Linked DNA regions of Homo sapiens: all the other regions are linked to region 2. Evidence: promoter capture Hi-C in 16 types of primary human blood cells and fetal thymus (Javierre and others, 2016). All regions are on one chromosome and are shown on one strand. The core of a region is centred on a gene start or on the middle of the fragment in contact, and the rest is flanking DNA. Distances in the headings are between cores, read along the strand shown.

Evidence for each region. Contacts are between HindIII fragments. The CHiCAGO score rates a contact against its expected background, and 5 or more counts as called.
Region 1: a fragment that was not itself captured here is called in contact with the fragment with the promoter of EPHX4 in region 2 in 1 of 17 cell types (fetal thymus); the score reaches 5.1 in fetal thymus.
Region 3: a contact is called between a fragment that was not itself captured here and the fragment with the promoter of EPHX4 in region 2, in 1 of 17 cell types (endothelial precursors). The highest score is 5.4, in endothelial precursors.
Region 4: a fragment that was not itself captured here is called in contact with the fragment with the promoter of EPHX4 in region 2 in 3 of 17 cell types (total CD8 T cells, fetal thymus and total CD4 T cells); the score reaches 7.2 in total CD8 T cells.

The regions. Positions count from the first base shown.
Region 1 is chr1:92,650,709-92,655,506 of GRCh38, reverse strand. The region is part of intron 13 of EVI5 (ecotropic viral integration site 5); the gene reads left to right. Among named protein-coding and RNA genes, the nearest start is that of EVI5, 130 kb to the left of the region's middle. The HindIII fragment of the contact is 1,164 bases long and covers 669-1,832 here.
Region 2 is chr1:92,028,414-92,033,459 of GRCh38, reverse strand. It overlaps EPHX4 (epoxide hydrolase 4), which reads right to left and starts at 3,475. Exons shown (of 7, transcript NM_173567.5): 1 at 3,150-3,475; 2 at 870-955. The coding sequence starts at 3,380. It overlaps LOC124904218 (a long non-coding RNA gene), which reads left to right and starts at 3,073. Exons shown (of 2, transcript XR_007066222.1): 1 at 3,073-4,095. RefSeq lists an enhancer at 3,275-3,776. The HindIII fragment of the contact is 12,008 bases long and covers 2,509-5,046 here.
Region 3 is chr1:91,511,459-91,516,396 of GRCh38, reverse strand. It overlaps CDC7 (cell division cycle 7), which reads right to left. Exons shown (of 12, transcript NM_003503.4): 5 at 4,707-4,800; 6 at 4,474-4,616; 7 at 3,090-3,339; 8 at 2,354-2,449; 9 at 1,400-1,578; 10 at 521-603. Among named protein-coding and RNA genes, the nearest start is that of CDC7, 13 kb to the right of the region's middle. The HindIII fragment of the contact is 295 bases long and covers 3,388-3,682 here.
Region 4 is chr1:92,604,763-92,609,532 of GRCh38, reverse strand. It overlaps EVI5 (ecotropic viral integration site 5), which reads left to right. Exons shown (of 20, transcript NM_001350197.2): 17 at 1,806-1,952; 18 at 4,131-4,226. Among named protein-coding and RNA genes, the nearest start is that of GFI1, 120 kb to the right of the region's middle. The HindIII fragment of the contact is 823 bases long and covers 2,880-3,702 here.

The DNA.
Region 1 (4,798 bases), core at 1-2,500, 620 kb before region 2:
TGACCTTTTGTTTACATGTTTAGAACTCACTTGAACATTTCTTGTAAGGCTGGTCTAATGGTGATGAATTCTGTTAGCATTTGCTTGTCTGGGAAAGACTTTTTCTCCATTTATGAAGCTTGTTCTAGCAGGATAAAAAATTCATGGTTGACAGGTTTTTTTTTTTCTTTAATAAGTCTTAAAATGGGATTGTGATTTTTTTTCTGGCTTGTAAAGTTTCTGCCAGTATGTCCACTGTTAGTCTGAGGGGATTTCCTTTACTGATGATTAGACACCTTTCTCTTGCTGATTTTAGGATTTTTTTTTTTCCTTCATGTTGTCATTAGTCTGATGAGTATATGTGTTGGTGAAGTCCTTCTTGCACTGTATTTTCCTAGAGTTCTCTGAGCATCTTCTATTTGGATGTCTAAATCTCTAGCAAGAGTAGGGAGTTTTCCTCAATTACTTCCTCAGATAGGTTTTCCAAACTTTTTGCTTTTTCATCTCCCTCAGGAATACCTATGACTTGTAGGTTTAGACATTTTATATAACCCCTATACTTCTCAAAGGCTTTGTTCATTTTTGAAAATTATTTTTTCTTTATTTTCGTCTGACTGGACTAATTCAATAGACCTGTCTTTAAGCTCTGAGATTGTTTTTTCTGCTGGGTTTAGTCTACTGTTAAAGCTTTTACCTGTATTTTATAATTTCTTCAATGAATTTTTCATTTCCAGACTTGATTTTCAGATTTCTTGGTGTTGATTTTCATTCAGCTTTCTCTTAGATCTCATTGAGCTTCTTGGAAATCAGTATTTTTAATTCTTTATATGGTATTTCAGAGATTTCATTTTAGTTAGGATCTATTGCTAGAGATTTAGTGTGATCTTTTGAGAATGTCATAACACTGTCTTTATACTTCCAGAATTGTTTGGCTGTTTCCTTCTCATATGGAGAAACTTATCTTTTCTTCTTATTTTTGAATTTACTTTCATTTGGACAGGAATTTTTTTCCTCTGAAGGATATAACTACAATGTATGTTCTGGGTGCTTCCTTGGCAGAATGTATGAGTTCTTTGAATATAGATAGCCTTTGTGTGGTGGTTTTCTCAAATGCTAGTTGTAGTAGTAGTGTACTGGCTGTGTGAGTAGTATCACAGCTTCCTGCAGGGCTGGGATGGCGGAAGTCTCAAGAATCTTATCTCATTTCCCAGCACTGTGCACTTGTGTCAGCAGATTTTCTGTTGGGTTGTGCATTTCAGCCTCCAGGACAGTAGGTGGTGGTTGTGGGTAAGAGCCTGCTGCAACAGAAGCAGATGGACAGGTGCTTGATCTTTGTTTAATGGGGGAAGTTCTTTGTTGCTTCAGGCAATGGGCTGGGCTGTGGAATGTACAGTGGCTTGAGCTCTCTGCTCACCCCCTAGCAGGGGACAAGTCAGGGCAGAGATGGACAGCCAAGCCGGCCCTTGGATTCCCCAATGATGAGCACAAGCAGAAGACCTGAGTGGGGGTGGCAGGGAAGCTCCTGGTAAGTACACTGAGGTCTCTGCAGAGAGGCAGGGAGCCACCCCAGTTCCATAGCCCGGGCAGGCAGGAATGTAATCTCTCTCCCTGTCATGCCCCTGTCCCCAAACTCAGAACACTCAAATTGGTCAGACACCACTGTCTATCTCCAGGCTGCAATGTACCTGAGAGCCATAAAAGATGACTGCCCCTTGGCTTGCTGCCAGAATGTCTTTGTTTTGGAGTCTTCTTCCTCAGTCCAAAACACACAGCTTTTTGGCTCTCCTCTCCCTTGCAGGAACGCTGCTGCTCTGCATGGAGAGGGGGAGGGGGTCCCACCTTTTGCACAAGCTTAGATATGGTGGACTGATTGCCAGTAAGACCACAGTCACCCCTGTCTGCCCCAGAAAGTCTGTGTGCTCTGATGCACCCATGCCAGTTTCCTGTGGTATCAGCCATGGCTATGCCTACAGCAGTGGGGTTGAGGAGGAGTCCCCATCTCCATGCCTGGGTCTGAGCACTCATACTAGGTTGGCCCCTGGGATGAAATCACACTTGCAAAGCCTTGTAGAGCCAAGCACAGTGCCCACATCTTTGCTGGAGGCAGTGCAGTCACTCAGAGTCCACAGGTGGTGAGCTCTTGGGCACAGGAAAGTATGTGTTCTGGTTTCCTTTGTCCCAGTGGGTGCTCCCTTGGCGTGCAATACTTGTTCTTCTCTTCGGGGCAGCAGTTGCCGAGGAACCCTGCAGCTCCCTGGGTCCAGCCATCCCTTTGCTGCTGCCACAATCTGAGCAGATGCCAGGGAATGTCTATGGGGCTCTGGTGATGTGGAGACACAAAGGCTGAGGTTCCCTGGGCAGGGTACAGACCCCTGATGGCTGTGCTCCCAGTATAGCACCCTATCGCTGCTGCTCAAGTCCGGGGGCAGAGTGAGCAACCCAGTGCAAGTTGGTAATCTGGTGCAGTGCCCTCAAGAAGTCCCCAAATCACTGCCCACACCAGTGTTTGGGTTTGCAGGGTAGAGGAGATCTCCGACAGTTCAGTTACCAGTGGTTTGTCACAGGTTAAAGAGGAGCCCAAACACTCCCAACTACCCTTTTGACTAGATACCAAATCCCTCGGGGTTCCTAGCCGATCTCTGCCAGCTTCTTGCTTCCTTCTTTTTCTGTGCCCCAGCTTCTTCACATGAGTTCTCTACTAGCCTCCAGCATTCTCTGGATAGTCTATTCACATTATGGTTATTCACTTGTAACCTTGGTTCTTCTTTCTGAAGAGAACTGGCATTGGACACCTCTAGTCATTCATCTCGAACCCTCTCCCCAAGAATAGTATTTGATTGTGCATACACACCACATTTCCCTTATCCGTTTGTCTGTTGATGGATATTTAGGTTGATTCCATATCTTAGCTTTTGTGAGTAGTGTTGCAATAAATGTGGGAGTACAGATACCTCTTCAACATACTGATTTTATTTCTTTTGGAGCCAGCAGTGGGATTGTTGGATCTGATTTTTTTCATTGTGATAAAATATATACAACCTAAAATTTACCATTTAAGTGTACAGTTCAGTGTCATTAAGTACATTTATAATATTGTGCAGCCATCTCCACTGTTCATTTATAGAACCTTTTCATTGTCTGAAACAGAAGCTCTGTATCTAGTAACAATAATCTTTTCCCATCTTCCCAGCCTCCGGTAACCTCTGTTCTACTTTCTGTCTCTATGAATTTGCTTATTCTGGGTAGCTTATTTAAGTGGAAGCACATAATATTTGTCCTTTTGTGTGTGGCTTATTGCACTAAGCATGATGTTTTCAAAGTCCATCATTGTTATAACAGGTATCAGAATCTCATTCATTTTTATGGCTGATAAAATTCCATAGTATGTATATACTACGTTTTGTTCATCCGTTTGTTTGTTGATGGACATTTGGGTTATTTCTGCCTTTTAGCTATTGTGGATAATGTTGCTATGAACATTGCCCTATAAGTATCTGTTTAAGTTCCTGCTCTTAATTCTTTTAAGCATATACCTAGAAGTAGAGTTGCTGGATCATATGTAATTTTATGTTTAATTTTTTGAGGTTGTGTCAGACTTATCTATAGCAACTGTACCACTTTCCATTCCCACAAGCAGTGTACAAGGGTTCCAATTTCTTTCTTTTTTTTTTTTTTTTGAGACGGAGTCTCGCTCTGTCGCCCAGGCTGGAGTGCAGTGGCGGGATCTCGGCTCACTGCAAGCTCCGCCTCCCGGGTTCACGCCATTCTCCTGCCTCAGCCTCCCAAGTAGCTGGGACTACAGGCGCCCGCCACTACGCCTGGCTAATTTTTTGTATTTTTAATAGAGACGGGGTTTCACCGTTTTAGCCGGGATGGTCTCGATCTCCTGACCTCGTGATCCGCCCGCCTCGGCCTCCCAAAGTGCTGGGATTACAGGCGTGAGCCACTGCGCCCGGCCCCCAATTTCTTAATATCCTTGCCAACTGTTGTTATTTTCTGATTTTTGTTTGTTAAGTAATAGCTATCCTAGTAGGTGTGGGGTAGTATCTCATTGTGGTTCAAATCTTTTTTTAACTTTAAAATTCTTTCAATGCAAAGACTATATCAAATAGACATTTAAATAATTTTTTGACCGAGATTTTGTTTATGGTTCCTCTCTTTCTCCTTTTCTCCAAATATAAGTAGCGGCCAATTTAGTCATGGGAAAGATAACAACTAATTTCTTTATTCTGTAATTTATTGTAAATATATCAGGTTCAATTTGTGTAAATACTTTGTATTTTCCTTAGTCCTATATGTGTTAATCTTATAATGGAATGAACTTATTCATATATTTATTTGAAAACTAATGTGCAAAGTATTGTCTTAAGTGCAGAGGGTACGATAATAGTAAACAAGAAAAACGAAGACTGCTGTTACGTGAAGTGTTCTAGTTGGGGAGACACATTAAACAGATACAATTTCAGGTGGTAATAAGGTGATGAAGAAAAATAAAAATAAAGCAGAGGAGAGGTGGTTTGTGCAGGTGCTACTGTAGGTAAGCTAGTTTTGGAGAGCTTCCCTGAGGAGCTAAGATTTGACCAGAGACTCAATGATATGAAGATGGAAACTATTTGAAGATCTGGGAAGAAACATTCCAGATAGAGCATACACTTAGTAGAAAGGCCTTTATCAAGGAATAAATTTGTGGTTTTCAAGGAACAGTAAAATGTATATTTATAAACCATAGGGAAACCACCTAAAATTTTTTTAGAGAAAAATATATAATTAGGTAGCAAATAACAGAGATAAAATTGAGTAATTTAAGAAATTATTTAAT
Region 2 (5,046 bases), core at 2,226-4,725:
TCCTTTCCCTACCCAGTGTTGTATTTTGTCTATAGTAGATACTCTATACAAACTGTTTTGTTACTATTTCAGAAATTTGAAACATTAAAAGATACTTCTTTTAATCCTCAAAAAAATATATAAATTTAAATTGGTAGCAGGTAGGTCTTTTTAGGAGGAAAAAGACCTGTGATTCAGGAACATTTAGGAATATTAACTCTGGGCACATGATCAAAAAGTAGGGTCTGTTAAAAGTCATTACAAGAGGCTTGGCGTGGTGGCTTACATCTGTAATCCCAGCACTTTAGGAGGCCAAGGTGGGAGGATTGCTTGATCTCAGGCTTTCAAGACCAGCCTAGGCAATATAGCAAGATCCCACCTCCAAAAAAAAAAAAAAAAGCTAGGTGTGGTGGTAGATGCCTGTAGTCCCAGCTACTTGGTAGGCTGAGGTGGGAAGACTGCTTAAACCCAGAAGTTCAAAGCTGCAGTGAGCTGTGATCATGCCACTGTGCCCCAGCCTGGGTGACAGAGTAAGACCTTGTCTCAAAAATTGCCATTGTAACAGTATTAAGAGGTGGGACCTTTAAGAGGTGGTTAGGTCATGCAGGCTCTGCCCTCATGGATGGAAATAATGCCACTATGAAAGGGCAATTTCGGCCCCCTTTTGCTTCTTTGCCCTTCCTCCTCTGCCATGTGATGTTGCAGCAAGGAGGCCCTTGTCAGATGTTGGCACCTTGATCCTGAACTTCCCAGCCTCCAGAACTCTGAGAAAATCATTTATGTTCATTTTAAGTTACCCAGACTGTGATATTCTGTTACAGCAGCACAAAATGAACTGAGAAAATAAGCCAAGTTTTAATGTAACAATAAATGTTAGTTGGTAAGCTTACCAGAATTCTGGAAATCCATGAAGCAGCAGCATAAGTGGTTTGCCTCTTTCTCCAGCAGCAACATAGTGAAATCTTAACCCTGAATCCTGAAAGTAGAGGGCATGGAATTTTAGTGATGTTTGTGTTGATTGACAAAGCAATATATTTAGCATTTCCATTTCATTAAAAAAATAGTAACTTGCCTTATTTTAAAACATTTGTGTATTTACAATATCTTCATGACACTCAGTTGCCTTATTTTTAACATCAAGAAATATATTTACTTTTATTAATTTTCAAAAAGAAAAGCAAACCCCATGACCTATTAATAGGGTAAATTGACAGATTCACTTTGTCAACACTCCCTTGACAGTACCTTCTCTTCTTGTTCTAGTACAGTCAATTTATATATTATGAGCTTCTGAAGCAATGTCACAATTTGTAACTTTCATCTTACCATTTGTAACTTTCATCTTACTGATGTGTCACATTTCATCTCCCTCAAATGCTGCAGGACATGTAAATAATTCTAATCTGAATTTATATTTCTGCCATGTTTACATCCTAGTCATCTACTTTTCTCAGCTTGCCCGTCAAGAGCTGTGCCATCAGTTATATAATTCACACCTCCTTCTCTTATTTTTAGGTCTCTCCTTCCCACATTATTATTTTGAGTGTTGCATGTTCTGTTCCCCTTGCTGCCTGCTCATGTCATGTCAGTGTGCGTTTCTAATAAGAGAATGCCCTGAGTGCTCAAGACTTCACTCTGCATGTAGGAGACAAGAAAACCCAAGGAAAATTAAAAAAACATGGGAATGAGTCAGGAATTCAAGCAAATACTAAGCAGGCTGAATTGAGGAAAGTAGAGGGAACAGCAGGAATAAAAATCTCTGAAAGCAAGCAAGCTAGGAAACAAAAAGAACCAAAAGCTAAACACAGACATTGGGTTTTTATAGCAGGCAACTCAAGCAACTGAGTTTTCAGATGTGAAAGAATCATTTTGCAGATTCAGAAGATGAGGCCCAAAGATGGTAACATGAGTCATAAAATGGTTGAGAGCAGGGCTGTGACCAGAATCTCCATCTTGTCCTAACTCCCAGGACAATGCTCTTTCCACTCGGTTCTCTGTCTCTGGGGAAGCTCTTTAGGCGGCCAGAGCGAGGGGAAAAGTGTTTTATGGAATTCCAGATGGTTCTTATACTACTTTTACCCCTCAGGTTGAACAGAGATAACAAATCTGACTTTACCCTCAGCTGCACGATGGCTTCCTAGAGGTTCAATAACTTTTTTTATTGGTGGTGAGTCTTGGAGGATTAAATGTTATGGGCACTGCAATGGATTTAATTAACAGATACTTTATTGCACTGACTATGCATCAGGCATTGTTCTAAGTTTTTCGTGTTTGTTTTTATAAATATTAACCTATTTAATTCTCATGTCGACCCCAGGCAAGAAAGAAGTTCTCTTGCCCTTCTGAACTTCAGCTGCGGGGCAATTTAGCTCCTAACAGGAAATAAGGACTTGGTGACATAAACATCCCCTCTTATGAGGCTGGGTTTGAAAGGCCTGTGAGTCAGACTGCAGGGTGTATCACGGGAACTATTTCCCTTCACCACCTGGAGCCTCAGGAAACAGAATATTTGTGGGCTGTGAGGAAGCTTGAACAATTAGCGTCTGCAGGCATGGCTGGATTTACCTTTTATTCCATTCCTTTCTTTGGTCCCTGACTTCATAAGTATGCATTCCTCCCCACAACACACACAATTTACTTATTGTTTCATGCAACCTAAGTCGTCTGTGATCATAATAAACTCATGACTCCCAAAGACTGACTGTTTACTCTTATTATCTCTAAAATTGGGCAAGAACAGCCTCCTGAGACATTAGGATGCCACGAGGAACAATTCTCTACAGCTGATCTGAGCTCTAAAGGGCAAAAGGGTGACAGGAGACAGCTTCCCCTTGCAGTAGGAAAAAGAGCAGGTTTATTCTGGGTTGTTGTGGCGCCGGGGGGCAGTAATATAAGAGGCCCCTGATTAGAGAAGTTCCACATTCAGAAACCAATCAAGGTGCCTGCAAAGACCGAGTGCTGTTTATCTGTATCTCTCTCTCTCTCTCTCTCTCTCACACACACACACACACACACACACACACGACACACAGGGACCCAACCCCTCCTCCCCTCCTGCCAGGACACTAGGGGACGCTGAGCCAGCGTCTCGGAAGGAGAAGCCCGGAGCCCCCCACCCTCGCGGCGGTCACGCTCCCTCCCGCTCCCGCCAGGCCCGCGCGGCCCTTCACCTTGATCCGCACGTAGCAGTGGGTGCCCAAGGAGGGGTCGCTCAGGCACGCGGGAGGGTGCTCCCGGGCGGGCCGCCGGAAGGTCTGCGCCGGCCCCTTGCCGAGGCTCCACAAAAGTTTGAGCAGGTGGATGGAGGCGCAGAGCCCGCAGTAGCAGTAGACCAGGGACCAGAAGAGCAGGGACCGGAGCGTGAGCATCAGGCGGGGCAGGCAATCCCGCAGCCTCGCCATTGGGAGGCGGCGGCGGGGCCCACTGCCCTTCCTCGGGAGCGGGTGAGCGAGCGCCGCAGCGCGCCAGGCCAGCCCGCCGTCGCCTCTCGACGCGCGCCTCCCCCGGCCCGGGGCGGCCGGCGTTCCGTGTCACCGCGGCGGCTCCGCACACGCGCCGCGCCCAGCCCGGAGCGCGCAGGGGAGAGCCGGGCCTGCGGGGTGCGGCGGGCCAGGCCGGGGTGCAGAGCTTGGCTGTCTTCCGCGGAGAGCGAGATCCCGTTTCAAAATCGCAAAACTGTGGGGGAGGATGAAGGCGAGACTTTCCCAAACCATCCTGGGCACCAAAGAAGGTAGCGCCACTCAGTCTTCTTTGTTGTTCTCAATGTATCAAGCAAAACTATTTCTAAGCCCACATATTCGTGTGTCATAGTTCAGGGACACAGGTCAGCGACAAACTTCCATGCTATTACACCCAAAGAGATTCTTTAGAGTGCAAAATCACTCTGCACTCTGAAAGATACCAGCCTTCCTCTTCTCAAAATCTTTCGTGGAATCATAATTTCTGTAGAAATCCGCCTATGCCTTGCCTGGTTCAGCCACAGCAAACTTACAGAGAGCTGCAACCCCAGGGATACAACGAATGCTTCAACAACGTGACGCGGCAGAAGCCTGGCCAGAAGGCCACACACCTGAGAGTTCGTCGAAGGGCTGGAAGCCGTGAGAGTGACAGTCCTCGGTAGGTATCTCAGCCTCAGCACCGACATGGCCACTCTTGTCCTGACCTCTTCTATCGTCCAGTTCACTGTTAGAATTTCATTAAGCCTTTTCCCAATCACCGGGTCAGGTATTAAGTGTTCATTTTTTATGAGAAACTGTCAAACTGGTTTCCAAAGTGGCTGTACAATTTTGAATTTACTTCAGCATGTGTGAGTTATACAATTGACCTTTGAACAATGCGGGGGGTTAGGGTTGCTGAACCCTTTCACATCTGAAAATCCATGTATAACTTTTGAGTTCCCCCAAACTTAAGTACTAATAGCCTACTACTGACCAAAACAATTAACATATGTTTATGTATTACATACTGTATCTTTATAATTAAGAAAAATGTTAAAATCATAAGGAAGAGAAAATACATTTACTATTCATTAAGTGGAAGTGGATTATCTTAAGAGTGTTCATCCTTGTCATCATCAGGTTAGGTAAGCTGAGGAGGAGAAAGAAGAAGGGAGGTTGATCTTCCTGTCTTGGGGTGAGGGGGAGGGAAGAGGTGGAAGAAAATCCATGTGTAAGTGGACCTACACAGTTCAAACACATGTTGTTTGAGGGTTAACTGTATTTTGCTCTTTTTTTCTAGGGTCTTGAGTTAGGAACTTATTGAGACCTTTGCAATTTCTAATGCAATCATTTAGCACCTATACATTTCTCTCAGTACTCTTTTTATTTTATTTTTTGAGACGGAGTCTCACTCTGTCGCCTAGACTGGAGTGCAATGGCGCGATCTCCATCTCAGCTCACTGCAAGCTCCGCCTCCCGGGTTCACGCCATTTTCCTGCCTCAGCCTCCTGAGTAGCTGGGACTACAGGCGCCCGCCACCATGCCCGGCTAAGTTTTTTGTATTTTTGGTAGAGACGGGGTTTCACCGTGTTAGCCAGGTTAGCTCGTGAACCGCCCGCCTCAGCCTCCC
Region 3 (4,938 bases), core at 2,286-4,785, 520 kb after region 2:
AGTTTTTAGATTACGGAAGACATTTTTCTTTTTCAAAACCTTCTAACTGCTATTATATTGTTTATATAATAACAAAAGTAATTTTAATCAAACACAAATATATCTACATCACAGGAAACTTTTGAGGTATTAAGCAAGCAAATAAAATGCTTTAAGTCTTTGGCTGGCAAAAACTATTAAACATAATTTTTTCCCCCACAAAGGTGATGTCAGCAAAATTCCACAGATTACATTTTGCGTATTTATTTACAAGATGGTAAGATCATCTTGTAAATAAATACGCAAAATGTAATCTATGGAATAAACTGTTTAAACAAAAAAAGAGAGGCAACATTAGGATTAAAAACTTTCATAAAGAATAGCATTAGCTCAAAAATAGGAATGCCACACTGCAAGAACTGCTTACATAATTAAAAGCAGAAGAACTCAAATATTAGTTATAAATAGACAAAGATCATAAAATAAAATACGTCTGGAACAATCCATTTTAACTAGGTTCTGTATTTCCAGTACAACATACCTGTAGTTTGATTGGGGCACTTTGTCAAGACCTCTGGTGCTCTGAATCCTGGTGTACCTGCCCTAGGGGCAACCTGCTGACGCCTTATGATGAAATAAGATTTCTCTAGTTATGTTAAAGTTGAACTATGTAAGTCTAAAAAATAACATTCATCAATTTAGTTCACAGTAAATTTTGCCTTGATACCTATATAATAAGTGTTACTATAAAGTAAATGATAATCTAGTGTGATAAAAATCCTAGATTTTTCTTCTTCTGTTTTTTACCCCCTCTACTAGTTCCCCGGACTTACTCCAGAAAGGTTTAAAATAACCTCCAAGAATAAAAAGCAGTAGTGGATAATAAGAGCCATAATAGAAAAAATAGAACCCAATAGCAATTCACAGGTATAAAAATTCATTTGTTTGGAGTAATTGATCACAGATACACTTATATATTTGAGTTAATCAAGAAAGGCTTTATGAAAGCCAAGCCTTGAAGGAAAGGAAGAAATTTATGAGTCAAAGAGTTGGAGGTGGGAGTAAAAGAGGAGCTCTACTATTTGGTTCTGGTTACTCCACATAAGCGGGAATAAAAAGAGAAAACAGAAAAGACTACATCAGCAATCAAAATGTGTGATTCTAAGCTTCTAAAAGCCACCCCGTCCCACTTATTTGCATATAAGAGCAAATGTGTTTTCCAGAGTATATCCATATTAAATAAATAATATATGAAAACTGTTATCATTTGCTCTTCAACATACTACTGCTCTGCATCAAGGCCCATTGCAGTTCACTGATCTGAACTGATCCCTTGCACTCACAAAATTATCCACCCAAGTCAATGCAATTTCTAATGGCAGCATGCTGGTGATTTTATAACACCATCAAAACACATTACCTTGAAAGGCAAATACTACAAACTTTATCTGTTGCATAGCAGTCACAGGTCAGGCTAGCTGGGCAAGAACTGGCAGTTTTCCTCATCACAGCACTATTCATAACTTTTGTAGAAATAGCCTTCTTTTTTGTTGCTAACTTTCTAGACAGTACATCCACAGTCTTTGACTGCTTCATGAGCTGTAAAAGAAAAGTCTCATTTTTCTATTTTCATGATATTAAACATGATGTCCTAAAATGCTAGTATGGCAAAAAGCAATAGCGGAAGCATAACTTTAAAAACTGCTGAATGGCTATTGGACTGTAAATAAACTGTTGTCTATTAAAATGTTTAAGGTCTTCTTGGGTTTTTCTGTAAAGTCACCTTATATTAAAATTTACTAATTAGTCCTAGCTTGGCCAATATTTGAGTTATACTTTATTAGAACTTTTCCTGATATATTACAGAAGTATAAAACAGTTATGTTCTAGTGTCTAACTCCATTTCAGAACTGTAAACTGCACAAGTACGTTGGCTAAAATCACAGTTTTAATTTGTTGCTCATGCTGTCTAGCTGTCACAAGATATCATAAGTCAATCTGAAATCATCTACATTGATGATGATTTTGTTAACTTTACAAACATCTTTACACTATCAACTATGTGTCAGAATAGTTAGCTAACTGTATGGAGCTCACACTCTAGCAATGACAGAAAGCCCTTAATGTTCTAAATGTTCCTCTAGAGAAAGACAGTAATAGCTAACCAAAAATGAGAAAAAATTCCACCAGAAAAGTTCAGAAAAAAACTGGAGAAAACAAGTTTTGACTAAATGCTTAAAGCAGTAATACCTTCTGCCAAAGCCAAACTCTAGTTTAAAAAAATTTCTGATAATAAATGTTAATCTAGTTATTACCTAAATTCTCTTCAGTGTATGACTGACTGACCATTATGCTATTAAGCTACATTACTTACTTTCACTGCAGGGCTCTCATGTGAAATGGAGCTGTGTATATTGAAATTTCTTTCTCCAAAAACAGAGCGCTGGACAGAAAGGCCTACAGATCCCTCCTACAATACCAACAAAAACAAGGAAAATAAGGATTATATCTGTAACACTTTCTGCCAGCTGTACTCTGCCATAGTTTTGAAAGAGTTAAGTGAGATGAAACAAAAACAGCTGCATCCAAGTCATTCTCAGGCACCAAACCACTTCTGTGAAAGGAGAAAATAGTCTAGACAGAACTCAACACCCATACAATGTTATCATAGTCCACAAATATATATAACTAAAAAAAAATTCAAAAACCACCTGCATGGATGTTACATTTTGCTGTGCAGCTAAAATGGAGATAGACACTTCAGAATTCCTCCCCTATAACTAATGCTTTCTTTTAAAAAGGATAATTAATCTGAACTTTTTAACATGCAGGGAAAATTTAATATTTTCCATTTTTGTCATAAAATATGATTTCATAATAGTTAATGACAGATGTTATAAACTGACAAAGTAAATTTTAGTTTTAAAATAGTAACCAAAATGATTCAGTACAAATCTTAGTGAAAATTTAATCAAATGAATACATATAACAAATGCAAAAAAAAGTTTTTTAAATTATAAGTACTATCCTAGTATTCTATCTCCCTCTGTTGGTTGAAGGAGTATATTTCTAAAACAGTGTCGGTACTTAAGAAATAAAAGAGATAGAACCTTTCCGTCTTTTCCTTGTTTAATCTGAATTTGTGCATTTGTGTAGGGTCTTTTAACAGAAGCTTTTGTGGTGGACTGCTGATCCAGCTCCTTAGGTACTGGGCCACTCAGTGGAATCTTGTTTCCTGTGATTATGTGGGATTTGTTTTGTGAACACCTTTCCTGCTGAGCTTCAGACTGGACAAATTTAAGAAGCTCTATTTTCGTATCATGGGTTCCTTGGGCCAAACCAAAGTCTACCAAGGCATACCTAAGAGACAAAATTAAGCATTTTTACTTATCTGTAGCAATTAAAGCTTAGTAACATTGTAATACTCTCAAACCATCCTCATAAAAACTGTAATTCTTTTTGGGATCAATTAGGAATTTATAACATTCTGGAAAAAAGAAAAAAAAATAAGTTTTCCAGACAAAGTAAGAATTTAACAGCTAACCAGGATTGAAAATTAAGAGTTGTCCCACAATCAAATTTTCTTTTTCCAGTGGTCTGTGTTAATAAGGCAGAAGAGGAATACATAACATAAACACAGTCCGTTGTTCTCTGATGGTGGCAGAGATGGCATCATAGCAGATAATTTCTAGTTAAGAAAGCTTAAAAAAATTAAAATCATGGTTTTAAAATCTGATCCAATTAAAGAAAATTAAAAAGTCAGGCATATAAAAGCTCAAAAAAGAAGTTATAATATTATTATGTTTAATATGATCCATTATATAGAGGTATTTATGTTATTTTTAGCTTATAATTTCTCTATAATTATAATCAGCATTAAAAAGTATACATAAAAATAAAACTTTTGTGTTAAAACAGGAAATTGGCTATCATGTGGTCCAATCCCCTCACTTACTAGAAAAGAAAAATGAAGTCCAGAGATAAGAGACATGTCTAAGGTCAAAAATTATTAGACTCTAAGTCTGTTAGTTCATGCTATTTCCACTGAACCATAGTACATCTAATAATGTACATTATTCCACTAATACAATTTTATCTTCTTCATCACCAAATTTCCCTTTCCAATCACAAAGAAACTGAAACAGAAATAATCTGTGCATGGCTATTGCAGTATGTTATATTATATCTAAGAGATATAAGTCAGAGGATACAAAGTAGCAGATATGTAGGATAAATAAATCTAGACCTAATGCACACTCTGAAGATTACAGGTAATAAAACTGTACTGTATATGAGATTCATACTAAATGAGTAAATTTTAGCTGCTCTTGCCGTAAAAACAAAAATAAGATGGGTAACTGAGATAAATATTTGCTTCACAATAGTAACTTTTGTACTATATATAACATCATGTTCAATACCTTAAATATAGACAATAAAATTGTTTTTTAAAAGAAATAGGATAAATATTTTCTAGTAACTCTTCATACTTACTTTTTCAGGCGCCTATTATATAAAAAATTGCTGGGCTTAACATCACGGTGAACAATACCAAACTGATGAATGCGTTTCAAAGCTTTGAACAGATTAAGCATATATTCCCGTACTTCTTGAAAGGAAAGAGAATTCAGAATGTCCTAAAACAAAGTTACAAATGAAATGAGTTACAAATATTGTTTGCAATTAAATATTTAGCTAATAAAAATTCAAGAAATATTAAAACCTACCAAAAACGACTCATGCTCCAGATATGGCATAGCAATAACTACATGATCATTCTTCCTAAAGCAGTATTTAACTCCCATGACATTATCTTGCCCCCTAGTGGAAAAATGCACAAGGAACTTTTAGAAGAAAGGTCAGAGGGACTGAAACTTTATGCCTAATTTTAAAAACCGCAATTTTAGCAATGCATACATATTGCTAGAAAACTGACTTAAATCATCATCACATAATATA
Region 4 (4,770 bases), core at 2,042-4,541, 580 kb before region 2:
TACAAAAATTAGCTGGGCATGGTGGTGGGTGCCTGTAATCCCAGCTACTTGGGAGGCTGAGGCAGGAGAATCACTTGAACCCAGGAGGTGGAGGTTGCAGTGAGCCAAGGTCGTGCCACTGCACTCCAGCCTGAGCAACAAAGTGAGACTGTCTCAAAAAAAAAATGAAATGAAATTACATGACATGACATGATTGTGTGAGACTGCTTTCATAAACTTTTCGCCCATAATCTAATCTTCACAACATAGTCTCAAAAGGCAAGTAGTACTATCTCTACTGAAATTTGGTAGGATTAAATAACTTGGCCAAGTTTTAAGAACTGTTAAATGAGAAGTTAGATTTTTACTTCTTTCTGTTATGAAAGTCCCTACTATTTCTTTCAGGCCTCTGATAGAATAATTTCGGGTTGAGAGAATTCTGGCTGGGTCATACCTGAGTGTGAAAACTACCTCATGTTAGTTCAAGGTCTATATGTTTTTTTAGCACATTCTGTAATTATAATACAATAAACAGCTAGCATTTATTGCTACATATTTAGGCCCTGTTACGCATATTATCTCATTTAATTCTGAAGACACCAAACTGAGAAATAGAAACTATTTTATATGCATTTTTCAAATAAGGAAATAGAGACTCAGAGATACTAGCTTGTTTGCTTAATGACCAAATATTAAAACCAGGATTCAAAATCTGTGTGCTTCATAAAAAGAGACTGTGCTAGACATTGAGAGCATGTAGAAATACACATATGCCGTATTGTGTGACATCAAGTTTACAGCCCAATAAATAGTGATGGTACCTTTTTTTTTTCCTTTCCTTTTTTTTTCTCTGAGACAGAGTCTTCTTGTCACCCAGGCTAGAGTGCAGTTGTGTGATCTCAGCTCACTGCAACCTCTGCCTCCTGGGTTCAAGTGATTCTTGTGCCTCAGCCTCCCAAGTACCTGGGATTATAGACGTGCACCACCATGCCTGACTAATTTTTGTATTTTTAGTAGATACGGGGTTTCACCATTTTGGCCAAGTTGGTCCCAAACTCCTGGCCACAAGTGATCTGCCCACCTTGGTCTCCCAGAATGCTGGGATTAGACATGAGCCACTGCACTGGCCATGATGGTACCTTTTGACTGGTTTGTGCTTTCTTTCTGGAACTGGAAAGAGGAATTAAACTCACCATTCCTGTATCTATCCATTTTGTACTCCCATTGCCAATCTTAGAAAGGAATACCTTCAAGTTGTGTATAAGAATTTTTATAGTTTACACCTATTTTTTGTATAAATGGTATATTGAGCTATATTGAGAGTCTCTAATATTGACAGTATGCATTCCTTTGGATGACTTGATTTTATTTATTTATTTATTTATTTTTAATTTTTTTTTTTTGAGACGGAGTCTCGCTCTGTCGCCCAGGCTGGAGTGCAGTGGCTCAGTCTCCGCTCACTGCAGGCTCCACCTCCTGGGTTCACGCCATTCTCCAGCTTCAGCCTCCCGAGTACCTGGGACTACAGGTGCCCGCCACCATGCCTGGCTAATTTTTTTTTTTTGTAATTTTAGTAGAGACGGGGTTTCACCGCGTTAGCCGGGATGGTCTTGATCTCCTGACCTTGTGATCCGCCCGCCTCAGCCTTGAATGACTTGATTTTAAAGGCAGTTTTATCTTATTTTTTAATGTTGATTTTGTTGAATAACAGTGACCTATAACTAGTAACATTTTTAATAATGTTATGGTATAAAATGGATAGGTAATTTTTTTTAATTTTTAGGTCTTGTATCTATAGTCTCAGTATTTATATTTCTGATTATTAGAACCAGATCAATAGTAACCATCTTCGAAGAGCAGAACAAGAGGTGATTAGCCTACAGGAGAAAGTGCAGTATCTTTCTGCACAGAACAAAGGACTCCTTACTCAATTAAGTGAAGCAAAGCGTAAACAAGCAGAGATTGAATGCAAGGTAAATATGTCAACTAACTGATTTTGTTTTTTGTCAATATAATAATGCCTTTTTTTTGTTTGTTTTATCGTGATTAGATTATCTTAAAAACAAAACAAAAAAGCTCGTCCTATTTTCTACTTTTCCTGAACTTGTTTTGGTAGTTGCTTTCAGACCAGGTCAGCTCATCTTGCTTCTGGGGTGGATTTTAGTCAAGAAACATTTTCAGTCACTTCCTTGGTTAATTTAATTTCCTGGATTGGCATTTACTAGTATTTCTTTACAGTTTTTCTTTTGACTGGTAACCCTTTAAAACCAGAGCTTTTAATGGCTTGATCAAAAAAGATGGGTCATTTAGAGAGGTTAGGGCTCCTCTGCTTTGATTGGTATCTTATTAGTGGGCAGTAATGTTAATAACATTGATACATGTTTTCTGGATAGACTAGAGAGCAAAAGAAATGTGTATGTACCAGTGTGTTGGGAAAAATGGGTATATTACCCATTATTATTTTAATCAGTTATATACTTTACTTTTTTGTGAAGTGTTTGGATTCAAAAAGCATCAAAAGTATTTGAATGCAAGTACATTCTTTCCTGAAATAAATTTACAATATAGCAGTGGTGAGAGAGTGGGGGAAAGGCAGTGAGATGGAAGGAGAGGAGGGAGGGTTTGGGGGGGTGTGTGTGTGTGTGTGTGTGTGTGTGTGTGTGTGTGAAATAACTAAAGAGATGACTGTAGACTGGGCATTAGAATGGATTACTAAAGGCAAGTTATGGGATTTAAAAAAATAAACTAGGCATCCACCTTTCCATGGTGAGATAGTAGGAATGATGCCCTTTAAAGATTCCAGCCTTATTATTGTATAAGAAATAAGACTTTTGATGGCACATGTAAAGCTGTAATTCCATCAGCTTATTCTGGTGACATTAAAAACCAAGAGTGAAGCTTGAATGGTTTATCAGTGTCACTGAAATCCAGAGATGAAATTACATCCTTATAAATATGCATGGCTGTTACAATGTATACTGACAGAAATCTGTAGGCAGTACTGAAATTCCTACTAAAAGCACAGTCACTTTTGAAGGATATGACTAAACTATAAATAAAATAATATTAAATGAGGTTGTATCAGTCTGATTTGTCATACCAATATCTGATTGAGTTTTTATGATGCTAAATTGTCTGTGTTGACATCTTATAGATAACTAAATTTAATCTTTTATTTATTATTGGTGTTAGTTTTCCTTAAACATATTTTGATAATGGTGTTACTAGATTAAATATTGCTCCTCAAATGCCTTAGTACCTGTTGAGCAAAGTAAAGTGTTCTTTGGAAATAAATCTTTGAGGAACTTGCTGTTGAAAATAATAATTTTCTTTGAACTTGTCTAAGTAATGGGCTCAGATTTAGAATATTAGAGGATTTTATGAACTAATATGGGATTTTATTTAATTTTTAATTGTTCATTAATACCTCTGTGAAGTATGTTACAGATGCAAACTCTGATATCTCCCCTGTGTTTAAGCTGTGTGTTAATTTATTCAATCTTTCGTGATGCCTTTGCAGGTTTTGAGAATGACCAATGTATTGTTACCCTAGCACCTAGTACATTCTGATTAAATGTGTATGTTTTACCCTGTTATGTTGGAATAATTCGGGAACAAAGTTAATTTTTCAAGAAAGCCAGTCCGTGAATTATGTAAATCTGATTCATTTTCATTTAGTATTATAATATTATAGCTTATGATTAATTTATAATTATTAAAGCTTTTTTATTTTTAGTTGTGTAAAATGTGTGGATATTGTTTATAATATTAATGTTATTTTCCCTCTCAACTTAATTTGAATGTTCTCACTTAAAGTTGAAATATTACAAGCCTGTGAACCCCAGTTTCAAAATGCAAAACACTCTAAAACCCTGGAGTTTTTTCATAAATTTCACACAAATTCCTTTGGAGGCAAAACTTAATTTGAATTGATATATGGCCATTTATAATTGTTATTTATTCCACTTGATGTGAACATTTATATCTCACTGCTTCGTTGTATGTATTGAGCATATTGTTTCATTATGGATGCTGCCTTAGACCCTGCTAGATAATACTTAACGTATGGTTTATGCAACCTATTACTTTTCTAAAATCTGAATTCCAAACACACCTGGTTTATTTTGTTTCGGTTTGGTTTACCACACTAGAATAAGGAAGAAGTGATGGCTGTGAGGCTTCGGGAAGCAGATAGCATAGCTGCTGTGGCTGAACTACGACAACACATTGCTGAGCTTGAAATCCAGGTACCATATGAAAATAATAAAGTACATGTAAAAATATAGTTTCTTCTATCCTCTTTGTCTGAACAGTAACTTACTCTTTATCCTCGTGACTGTGATTCTTTTTTCAGTAATCATTCATTTCCAATTTTTTTTTATTGTGGTAAAATAGACATAAAACTTACCATTTTAAAGTATACAGTTCTGCAGCATTAAGTATATTTGACACTGTTGTGCAGCCATCACCACCATCCATATCCAGAACTTTTTCATCCTCCCTAACTGAACCTCTTTGCCCATTAAACACTAACTTCCCATTCCCCAGCAACTGGCAACCACCAGCAACTGGAAACCACCATTCTACTTTGTCTCTATGAGTTTGACCACTCTGGTTACCTCATATAAGTGGGATCATACAATACAGTCATATGCTGCATAAGGACATTTCAGTGACGGACAGCATATATGGTAATGGTCCCATAGGATGATAATGAAGCTGAAAAATTCCTTTTGCCTAGTGACTATAGCCATCATTATGTTATAGTGCAACACATTACTCATGTGTTTG